Linked DNA regions of Homo sapiens: all the other regions are linked to region 1. Evidence: promoter capture Hi-C in 16 types of primary human blood cells and fetal thymus (Javierre and others, 2016). All regions are on one chromosome and are shown on one strand. Each heading gives the region's core, a stretch centred on a gene start or on the middle of the fragment in contact. The rest is flanking DNA. Distances are from core to core; before and after follow the strand shown.

The links. The method cuts DNA at HindIII sites, captures the fragments that hold promoters and counts their contacts. A CHiCAGO score of 5 or more calls a contact.
Region 2: a fragment that was not itself captured here is called in contact with the fragment with the promoter of CHST7 in region 1 in 1 of 17 cell types (neutrophils); the score reaches 5.5 in neutrophils.
Region 3: a fragment that was not itself captured here is called in contact with the fragment with the promoter of CHST7 in region 1 in 2 of 17 cell types (neutrophils and monocytes); the score reaches 8.7 in neutrophils.

What each region holds. Positions count from the first base shown.
Region 1 is chrX:46,571,605-46,575,683 of GRCh38, reverse strand. It overlaps CHST7 (carbohydrate sulfotransferase 7), which reads right to left and starts at 1,919. Exons shown (of 2, transcript NM_019886.4): 1 at 261-1,919. The coding sequence starts at 1,752. The coding sequence ends at 292. RefSeq lists silencers at 672-731, 852-901. The HindIII fragment of the contact is 5,347 bases long and covers 1-3,689 here.
Region 2 is chrX:46,650,491-46,654,368 of GRCh38, reverse strand. SLC9A7 (solute carrier family 9 member A7) reads left to right here. Exons shown (of 17, transcript NM_001257291.2): 8 at 655-760; 9 at 2,965-3,053; 10 at 3,146-3,259. Among named protein-coding and RNA genes, the nearest start is that of CHST7, 79 kb to the right of the region's middle. The HindIII fragment of the contact is 3,331 bases long and covers 487-3,817 here.
Region 3 is chrX:46,688,323-46,691,985 of GRCh38, reverse strand. The region is part of intron 1 of SLC9A7 (solute carrier family 9 member A7); the gene reads left to right. Among named protein-coding and RNA genes, the nearest start is that of SLC9A7, 69 kb to the left of the region's middle. The HindIII fragment of the contact is 5,375 bases long and covers 1-3,663 here.

The sequences.
Region 1 (4,079 bases), core at 670-3,169:
CAGAGACCTGGCTTCCACCTCAGTCACGCCTAAATATCCTCTCTCATCTCAGGATCTCCCTCTAAGGAGGCGCGAGGCTAAGCTGGAGATTCCGATGAATCTACCAAATTCTACGAGCAGGACTTTCCCATCCTCTTGGACCTGATCTGATAGAATGGGATCCAGCATGGTACCCTCCCCCCTACACTTCCCCCTCCCCAGGCCATTCCAGGCTCCCGGAAGACCAGTCCCGGTCCCTGCCTTGCCCCGGGCCACCTTACCCGGATCCGTGCCGGGGACAGGGATGGGAGGCTACGTGGCGCCGTCGGCATCCATCTCCAGCGGCGTCTCCCCTTCCCTGGGCTGCTCCGCGTCGCCCTCCTCTCCGCTGCGAGGGTAGGCGAGCAGACGCATGGCTGGAGCGCAGGCGGCCTCCACCTGGCGCACCTGCTCTCGGCTCAGGCGCTCGCGCCAGGCGTGCACCGCCTCCCGGGCGTCGCGCGCTGACAGGTGGAAGGGCCGGTCGGCGCCGTAGGCCGCGCCGCGAGTCATGTTGAGCGCGAAGGCATCGAGCGCTGCGAGCGCGCGTAGCCCGGAGAAGCGCAGCAGGCGGCGCAGCTGGGCGCGTGGCTGCCGCACCAGGTCCTCATAGCGCAGCCTCAGGTAGCGGCGCCGCAGCCAGGCGGGCGCGCCGCGCGCGAAAAGCAGATCGCGCAGCCAGGCTTCGCAGATCACCTCGAGCGCACCGGTCAGGAAGAAATCGGCGCGCGGCGCGGCGGGCAGCGCGCGAGACTGGCCCCCGGGGCGAGCACCCACGCCGTGCGCCAGCAGCACACGGTGGAAGCGGTCGCCCCTCTGGCGGGTGCGCAGCACCTGGATGCTCTCGCGCAGCAGTCCCTGCCTAGACTTGAGGCGCGAGTTGTGCACCGCCCTCGGGTCGCGGAAAAGCTGCACCACCTTCAGGTTGAGGCCTGGATCACGCAACAGGGGCACCAGCACGCCCAGATCGAGCAGGCGCACGTCCTTGATGACCACCACCGGGTACTTTCGGCACTCGGCCTCCAGGGCGCGTATCGCCACGGGTGGGCAGCTGCGCTCGCAGGCGGTGTCCTCGACGAGGCCCACCTCGGCCCGGGCACGGGGTGCGCCAGGACACAGTGGCGGCGAGCAGATGACCTTGTTAGTCCGCCAGCGGAAGAGGGCGGCCGTGGTAAGATTGGCCGTGTCCGGGGCGCGCGCAGCGGGGTCCCCCGGCGGCGCGTACAGCCGCAGCACGGAGAAGTCGCAGCGGAAGAGCGAACGCAGCATGTCGCGCAGCGCGCCCTGCAAGCTCTCGGCGTCGCCCGGATACAGCGCCTGCCATAGATGCCACATGGGCTCATACAAGTAGAAAACGTCCGGGTGCTGGTTAAAGAGTTCGCCCAGGAAGGACGAGCCGGTGCGCCAGGTGGCATGCACGTAGATGTGCTGCTTCTCGCGAGACACTGCCTCCCCGACAGCGCCGCTGAGGTTGCTTGGGAACCGAGGAGACTGGTTCGCGCCCCCTTCCTCGGCGGCCCGCGCCTCCGCTCCCTGCTCGCGTTCGCCGGCCGCCGCCGCCTCCAGGCTCCACACTCCCAGGCTGCGCTGCAGGCCGGGGCAGTGCTCGGCGCCCTTGTCCCCGTCGCGGCCGCCGTCCAATACGGAGGGGACGAGCAACAGCACCAGCGTGTACAGCACCAACAGCAGCGCGAACTTGCAGTACTCTCGGCGTCGCCGCCGCCGGCCCTTCATCGTTCACCGACCCTCCAGAGCGGGTCGGGCGCCAGTCTTCTCCCGTTCCTCAGAAATCCCGTGCCAGGTCCGCTCCTGTGGCCTCTCCCGGCCCCTCTGCGCCGGGAGGAGCAGAGCCGCGGGGCCGCGCATCCACAAGGGGAAACTTGGAAGGCGGTGGTGCTACTGACGGCGCCCCTGCCCTCTCGGCTTAGCAGCCGGAGAGCCGCCTATTGGCCGGCTTGGCAGCCGCCCGCCCCGCCTTTCTGCCCGCCTGGGTTCGCCCACGGCTCTGCCAGATCTGGGCGGGGCTGTAGCGGGGCTGGGACGCCGGCTTACCCAGCCAGACCCCCACCTTTCCCCAAACCCTCCGTAATGAAGTCTTCATCAATGACTTCAGGCAAAGGAGGGGCCTGTGTGTACAGAATGTACCCAGTAAAGGGCCATAGACCCCACCCGGAGAAGGTCACTGCCTCTTCTGTTTTATGTCCCCTGCCTAGCCATCGCTATCCTAGGCAGATAAACACTCGCCACTATACATCCAGCGCCCCCATCAGCCCTGGAGTGGGTGTTACTGAGTTCCGGACTGAAAGATAGAAGATTGTACGTGGCAGAGCGGTCCAGGGGGGTTGGAGATACTACTGCATCCACGCAGCACATTTCATAAAGTCTAGCCTTTGTGAAATTCTAAGTGTTGTGTTCCTTAGGGTTTCACCAGCTGATGGGCTCTGCACATTTTACCAATACTCTGGGGCCCAGTTTGGTCATTTGTAAAATGTGAATAATTCTTAGTACCCATGTACCTCCTGGGATTGCGAGATTTGGGGGTTGTTACCACAGTATAACCCAGCCTATTCTGACACCTATGAGCAAAAGACATTTACAGAATCAAAGTGGTAGAATGGTGACCTTTCTCAGGAGCTCGGTGTTTAAAAGGACCCGTAAGAAGAAATGTGTACCCAAAGATAGATGAAAAAGAGACAGGAAGTCCAACAGGCAGATGAAGACTAGAGTTACTAAAATTCAAAACAGAACCAAAAAAGATACATTTTGCTCTGTTTCATCAGGCTAATGAATAAGGAAGTGAGAGCTTCCTTTCACCAGCTTGGGGAAGGTGTTGTAAAGTTAATAAAACATAGAAAGCATATCTACTTATCTCCACCAGGGGAAGGTGTTCAAATTGGAAGAGTGAGAACATATGCAATGCTCTCCACTGGTCTTTTTCATCACGGAAGCTACTCCACCTGTGAAACCACTGACTCAAGCATTTCGTTTTCTTTCCACAATTCCCCTCTTCTTCCAGCCAGTTGTTCAAATCTTCCCTATTCTCCAACCTCCACTTTTTGACCACCACCCCCACTTTCTTCTCAATTTTTCATATTCAGCTGAAAGATGCCATACCATTATTTTAATAACACTCCCTCCAATAAGCTAAACTCACGTGCCCTCTGCCTTTTCATTACTCATCTAGCAAAATCCCCCAAACCCTGCTTTTGGCTTTCTCTGTGCCTGCAAACACCACTGCGAAACATTTCTCCACAGGTGTGAGCCAGGCACAGTGGCTCACGCCTGTAATCTCAGCACTTTGGGAGCCCACAGAACAGATCAGCATCAAGATAACCTCATAATCATCAACCTGAAATGGTTGCTGAAATCTTAGGTTCTTCATGTCACTTCCCAGTCTCCAGTTCCATTATGATGATTTCAAACCTTCTCTAGTCTCCTCAGACTTCTGATACCCCTCTTCCCCCACCCACCTCTTCTCAGCACATGACCTTACTGCCTACTTCATAAAGAAACCATGTTAGACGATCTCTCACTTTTCCACTACCAAACTCATATATGCATTGACCTCTGTACACATCTCGTTTATAGCAAGGATATGATTTTGCAATATTAATCTACAACTTTCCCTTCTGTTTTCACTTTTCCCTCCTCTCTGGCTTTTTTAAAAAGCTTTGAGACAGGGTCTGGCTCTGTCACCCAGGCTGGAGTGCGGTGGCACTATCACCACTCACTGCAGCCTCAACCTCTCAAGCCCAAGCGATCTTCCTACCTCAGCCTCCCAAGCAGCTGAGACCACAGGCATGTGGACCACACCCAGCTAATTTTGTTTGTTTGTTTGTTTTTTGTAGAGACCGGGGTCTGTATGTTGCCCAGGCTGGTCTTGAACTCGTGGGCTCAAGTGATCCTCCCACTTCGGCCTTGTGCTGGGATTACAGGCCTGAGCTACTGTGCCTGGCCTCCTCTCATCTTTTAAGCAAGTAGGTGGCTCTGTGCTGGTGTGAGGGGAGAGGTGTGGCTGGGCAGAATGCAAATAGTTGCTGGTGTTTCCCGCTTCCCCCCAC
Region 2 (3,878 bases), core at 903-3,402, 78 kb before region 1:
CTCTGTCACCCAGGCTGGAGTGCAGTGGTGCAATCTTGGCTCACTGCAACCTCTGCCTGCCGGGTTCAATTGATTCTCAACCTCCTGAATAGCTGGGATTACAGATGCGTGTGACCACACCCGGCTAATTTTTGTATTTTTAGTAGAGACAGGGTTTCAGTATGTTGGCCAAACTAGTTTTGAACTCCTGACCTCAGGTGATCCACCTGCCTCGGGTCCCAAAGTGCTAGGATTACAGGCATGAGTCACCACACCTGGCCTACATGATTAATTTTTTAAAATTGTGGTAAAATATAGCCAACGAGATTTGTCATTTAACCATCTTTACGTGCACAATTCCGCATTCACAATGTCATGTAGCCATCTCCCTGTCTACTTTCAGAATTTTTTCATCATCCGAAACAGAAGCTCTGTACCCATTAAACAATGTCTCCCTGTTTCTTCCTCTCTCCAGCCCCTACAAAACTTGTGTTCCACTGGAAAGCTTAATTTGTATTACTTAAGAAATCTCCAGCAGCTTTAGAGCCTCCAAAAAAAAAAAAAGGTTGAAGGGAAAGGCTAGCCCTTTGGGGAGGGGTCCTGGGCTAGTGGAGTATGGTTCTTGGTGGCCCTGATACATGTACCTGGAGACAGGGTCCTTGACAGAATGCCAACGTGACTAAGTTTACCAAACTGCACTGCTTCCCCCTGCTGGAGACGGCGCTGTTCTTCCTCATGTCCTGGAGCACGTTTCTCTTGGCAGAAGCCTGCGGATTTACAGGTAGGTTTTTTCTACTCTTGGACCACCCTTCCCCTCACTGTAGTGGGGTCTGTGGGAACTTGAAGGAAGGGAAGAATTCTTAGATAACAGCTGCACAGAGTTTAACTGTTCAGCAAGTGTCCGTATGGAGGATTGCTGAGCAAGGCTATTGTTCTGTCTTAAATGGATTATTTACTTTCCAAAAAGCTAGACTTTTTTTAATTTTATTTTTTTAGAGACAGGGTCTTGCTGTGTCACCCAGGCTGGAGTGCAGCAGCACAATCATAGCTCACTGTAACCTCGAACTCCTAGGCTCAAGGGATCTTCCCCCTTCACCCTCCCAAGTAGCTAAGACTACAGGCACGTACCACACCCAGCTAACTTCTTTATTCTTTGTAGAGATGGACAACATTTGCTATGTTGTCCAGGCTGGTCTCAAACTCCTGACCTTAAGTGAACCTCCTACCTCAGCCTCTCAAAGCACTGGGATTACAGGCATGAGCCACCATGCCCAGCCTGAAAAAGTAGATTTTAATGATAAAGTTTATCATTCCAAAGTCAATTACATTTTTGAGTACTCATTCTAACTGTAAGTAGATGTTAAGGTGCAAAGAATCTATTAAAATTTTATTTGTATATTTCCCTTGATTGCTATGTTATTTTGCAAACAGTAGCAATAACAAGCAAAATATGTGTCCTTTAAAGGGTGATTTTGCCTCTGCTCAGATGAGTGTGAACACGGTTTTTCATTGTTTTGTTTCTGGGCTATTTAATCATTGCTTTTCAATATCACATTTTTATGGTGTCAGTTTCATATAGTATTAGTGAGGTGAAACATGTGGTTTTACTTCCTCACATTCTTTCATTTTAAAAAAACATTGAATTTTTCCATTAGAAAATTCAAGTACAGTTCTGTACATAATCCAGGTACTTAGGATGTACTTTTGTCACCCTTTCAAAATACTGTAGCAAATCTTTATATGCAGCATTACAAAATGCCCCACTTCCTTAAAATTTAACAGTTATCTGTAAATGTGTAGGCAAAGTCCCAGGTGTGTCATTTGTCTCGCACAACAAAATGGTTACCATTAACCAGAAATATAGAAGATCGGGGCTTGGATAAATGGAATAGTACTCTTGATCTATTTTGTCTAAAGCCCTAGACTGTGAAAAAATCTAGGCCAGGCACAGTGCGCATGCCTATATAATCCCAGCACTTTGGGGCCAAGGCAGGTGGATCCCTTGAGCTCAGGAGTTCAAGACCAGCCTGGGCAAGATGGAGAAACCCCATCTCTACAAAAAAATACAAAAATTAGCTGGGTGTGGTGGTGTGCATCTGTAGTCCCAGCTATTCAGGAGGCTGAGGTGGGAGGATCACTTGAGCCTTGGAGATAGAGGCTGCAGTGAGCCGAGATCATGCCACTGCCGTCCACTGAGGGATATATAATATATAATCCACTTTGTCTCAAAAAATATATATGTATATAAAGCATTAGTTTGAAATTCAGTTCATTCATTCTAAAAACAGTGAGGAATATGGCAAAAATTTGGATGGGCCCTCACAGTCTCTTTGAAGGAATGAATGCTATATGCCAACTACAGATGGTAGTTGGAGGAGTTTAGAGGAGGCAGGAGATACCCTTAAAACTGGAACAAGGAGGGGATGTTGAGGTACTTGGCTTTGAAGGAAGGCAGGGTTGGGAGACACAAAGGTTGAGAGGTGAGGGGTTGTAGGAGTGTTCAGTAGTAATAGGAAACTTTTTTTTCTTTTTTTTCTTTTTCTTTTTTTTTTTTTTTCTTTTGAGAAAAGGTTGCCTTCTGTCGCCCAGACTGGAGTGCAGAGGCGTGATCATGGCTCACTGCAGCCTCGACCTCCCAGGCTCAAGCGATCCTCTCACCTCAGCCTCCCTAGTAGCTGGGCCACAGGCCCACGCCACCACATCCGGCTAATTTTTTGTATTTTTGGTAGAGATGGGGTTTTACCATGTTTCCCAGGCTGGTCTCAAACTCCTGGGTTCAAGCGATCTGCTTGCCTTGGCCTCCTGCAGTGCTGGGATTACAGGTGTGAGCCACTGCGCCCGACCCAGCAATAGGAAAGTTTCAAAAATATTCAGGAAGTTGGATATGCTAGGCTTGCCTACCTTAACTTTTTGTTCTAGCAGGGTTTTTTTTTTCCCCTGCCTCTTTTTTTTCCATTGATTTTTTTTGGGGGGATGTTTTAACAGGTGTTGTAGCTGTCCTTTTCTGTGGAATCACACAAGCTCATTACACCTACAACAATCTGTCGGTGGAATCAAGAAGTCGAACCAAGCAGGTGAGAGAGAGGCTTGGTACTCACGAGTTGCTTGTTAACACAGGGAAGGGGGAACTGCAGGGTTACAGCTTCCTTTTCCCTTCTCTGTGCAGCTCTTTGAGGTGTTACATTTCCTGGCAGAGAACTTCATCTTCTCCTACATGGGCCTGGCACTGTTTACCTTCCAGAAGCACGTTTTCAGCCCCATTTTCATCATCGGAGCTTTTGTATCCTTTTCTTGTTCCACCATTTTCTACATGCAGAGACGACCACTGTTGGAGAAGCTATAGTAATAATAGTCATAATAATAATATAAAATAACAATAATATAATAATATAAACCATCATAAAATAATAATTACTATTTCTGTTTTGGGTAGGTGACTAACTCCATGCTAGTTCACAGGGTTTTTATGATGAAAAAAAGAAGGCTTAAGTGGCATTTCATAACACTAAATGTATTTGATTTAAAGGACTGCATGTATTCCAAGATCATCCTTTCTGCCTTTTCTATGTAAGATGGCCTTTCTGTTAAACTGGTGCTCGGCAGGTGATTGTTTTGTAAAGTGCTCTTCTTGGTGAATCTAAAAGTCAGCAACCATGTCAGTCTCCAGTGTTATTTTTGACAATTCATTGCTGTATGAATTCCAATCCAGGAGGTTCCCTGATTTGGATGACCCAAAGGTTCTGTTCCTCTTGCTCATGACTACGTCTGCAGTATGGGCAGCCCTTCCTCACACTGCCCAGGGTTGCCTGCAGGCAGTGACCCTACTTTTTCTCAAGCTTCCCTGCTGCTGCAGATCATGGTGGGAAAGACTCTTTCTCCCCGCCCCCACCAAAAAAAAA
Region 3 (3,663 bases), core at 671-3,170, 120 kb before region 1:
TATGTGTTTTGCTAAATCCCTGGGAGAGTCTTCTAAATAAATCAGCATTTATACAAGGACAATTATGCCTACCCTTGAAATTTTCCTCTGGTGAAAACCCTATATAACTGTAAAATTGCTGTAGAAGTGCTCATTTTACAGGCACCTGGGAAGCTGCTAGAGGGACAAATAAGGAAGTTATGGTGTCCTGTGCCTTTGCTGGACAGGACAACTTCAAAAACAGTGAGTTCTGTAGCTACTTTTCTAGAGATATTTTTTCTATTTTGCTCCAGCCCACATATCACTTGTCTTCCTAACCTCCATCCCCAATATGCACTATTTTTATAGCAAGAGATGATGCAAAGGAAAATAACTAATTCTAAAGGGCTCATAAAAAGCAGCATTTGTACAGCTTTTGACAGTTTATAAAGGGTTTTGACATATGCATGTTCTCACTACATTCTTACAACAGCCCAATTTTAGAAATGAGCAGCAGAGAGGTACTTTGTGCTGGATTGTAGCTAGGTGGAAAGTGAAGTTACCTACCCAGGTCTTCTGTCACTGAATCTACCAAATTCTTCTCCATTATGCTTCCTCATTACTACCAGACAAAATAAATATATCAGGAAAAGTTGGTAAATAGCAACAAATAATGCCTTAGAATTAATTTGCTACAATATACAAAAGCAAACATTTTCAGTAAATTTTTGCTTCTTATACATTTATAAAACATGGCAAGATAACAAGCATGTAGGAATTCTGTTATTCATGCTCATGGGAGGACTTCTGGAATGACTGTGTGAGAGCTCAATAAATCTTCTTCCCAAAACACAGCAATAAAATTGGACAAAGTTGTCAAAAATAACTATTTAGTCTCTGTAAATTGATGAAAGGTCAATTAAATTGAGGAACATTTATTAAAGAAAATCTACTGAATCTTGGTAAGAATAGTAGGTGTCTATGGCATTTAAGATTGCTCCCATCCCTGCCAGATCCATGTTCTGGATGATTTATCACAGGCAGGTGGAATAGACTGCAGTGACCACCAGCTCCCATTTCTCCCACCAGCTCCAGAAATAAACCATTGTGTTTATGGTCAGTTGATTTTCAGCAAAGGTACCAAGAGAATTCACTGGAGAAAAGACCGTATTTTTAACAAATGGTGCTGGAGCAATTAGATACCCGTATGCAAAAGGATGAATTTGGACCTTAACCTGACACCATACACACTAAGTTAACTCAGATTGTATCAGAGATCTAAATGTAAGCATCAAGGCTATAAAACACTTAAAAACATAAGAAATATTCATAACTTTGGGTTAGACAAGTGTTTTTTAGATATGATACCAGAGCCACAAGCAATAAAATAAAATGGATAAATTAGATTTAATCTATCAGAGTAAAAAAATTTTGCTCTGCCAAAGACAATGTCAAGAGGCTGGAAAGACAAGCTACAGTCTGGTAGAAAATATTTGCAAATCATATATCTGACAAAGGACTTGTATCTAGAATATATAAGGAACCCAAAATGTATAAGGGAACCCAGAATATATAAGGAACCCATAAGAAAACAACCCAGTTTTTAAAATGGGCAAATAACTTGAAGAAACATTTCTCTGAAGAGGGTATTAGGATTGCCAATAAGTACACAAAAAGATATTCAACATCATTAGCCATTAGGGAAATGCAAATTTAAAGTATGGTGAAATACCACTACACACCTATTACAATAGAATGGCTAAAATGAGAGATATTGGCAATACCAAATGTGGATGAGGATGTGGAGCAACTAGAACCCTCATATGATGCTGTAGGGGACAGTGGTTAAAAAATGGTATAGTTGGGCATTTGGGTTGGTTCCAAGTCTTTGCTATTGTAAATAGTGCTGCAGTAAACATACGTGTGCATGTGTCCTTATGGTAGAATGATTTATAATCCTTTGGGTATATACCCAGTAATGGGATTGCTGGGTCAAATGGTATTTCTTTGATAGAATGGATAAAGAAAATGTGGCACATATATACAATGGAATACTATGCAGCTATAAAAAAGAATGAGTTCATGTCCTTTGCAAGGACATGGATGAAGCTGGAAGCCATCATTCTCAGCAGACTAACACAGGAACAGAAAACCAAATACCGCATGTTCTCATTCGTAAGTGGGAGTTGAACAATGAGAACACATGGACAGAAGGAGGGGAACATCACACACCAGGGCCTGTCAGGGGGTAGGGGGAAAGGGGAGGGAGAGCATTAAGACAAATATCTAATGCATGCGGGGCTTAACACCTAGATGATGTGTTGATAGGTGCAGCAAGCCACCATGGCACATGTATACCTATGTAACAAACCTGCACGTTCTGCACATGTATCCCAGAACTTAAACAAAAAAAAAAAGAACTGAAAAAAAAAAAAGGCATAATTACTTTGAGAAATGGCTTGCAGTTTCTCATAAAGTTAAAGATATGCTGCACATATGACCGAGCAGTCCCACTCTGGGTATTTACCTTAGAGAAATGAAAACATGTTCATATAAAAACTTGTTCATGGGTGTTCATGGCAGCTTTATTTGTGCCAGCCAAAAGCTGGAAAGAAGCCAGATATCCCTCAGTAGGTGAGTGTTTATACAATGGAATACAACTTAGCAGTAAAATGAGATGAAGTGTTAATTCACACAATACTTGGATGAACCTCAAAGGTGTTACGCTGAGTGAGAGAAGCCAGTCTCAAAAGGTTACATACTGCATGGTTCCATGTATTTAACCTTGCAAAGACAAAACTGTATTAATGGAAAAAACAAAACAAAACAAAACAAAACAAAAAGCAGTGGTTGCTGGGGTTAATATGTAGGATGAAGGTATCAGTGTGAAGAGATAGTACAAGAGAGTTTTGGGGGAGTGGTAGAACTATTTGGTATCCTTGTTGCAGTGGTGCTTACATGAATCTATATGTGTGTTAAAATTCATAGAACTGTACACCAAAAGAAAAAATAATTCATTGTATAACAATAAAGCAAAAAAAAAATTTTAAGACAACATCAGAGAAATTTTAAAAAAGAAAGGAAAAATATAGGTCATAGATTTGGGGAAAATATTTTCAAATTGTATTTTCAATAAGGGACTTCTATCCAGAAAACAAAAAGTTTGGGTTTTTTTTTTACCATTCAATAAGAGAACCTGAGTTAAAATATGGCAAGAGATTTGAATGACGAGACATTTCACCAAAGAAGATATACAATGGCCTATAAGCACATAAAAAGATGCTCAGCATCTTTAGGCATTAGGGAAATGCACATTAAAACTACAATGAGATACCTCTGAACATTCTCTAAAACAGGTATGATCATAAGACAATAACAAGTGCTGCTGTGCCTGTAAACAAACTATAACTCTTTTTTTTTTTTTTTTTTTGAGGCGGAGTTTCGCTCTTGTTGCCCAGGCTAGAGTGCAATGGCACGATCTTGGCTCACCGTAACCTCCACCTCCCAGGTTCAAGCGATTCTCCTGCCTCAGCCTCCTGAGTAGCTAGGATTACAGGCATGTGCCACAACGTCCAGCTAATTTTGTATTTTTAGTAGAGATGGGGTTTCTCCATGTTGGTCAGGCTGGTCTCGAGCTCCTGATCTCAGGTGATCTGCCCGCCTCGGCCTCCCAAAGTGCTGGGATTACAGGTGTGAGCCACTGCG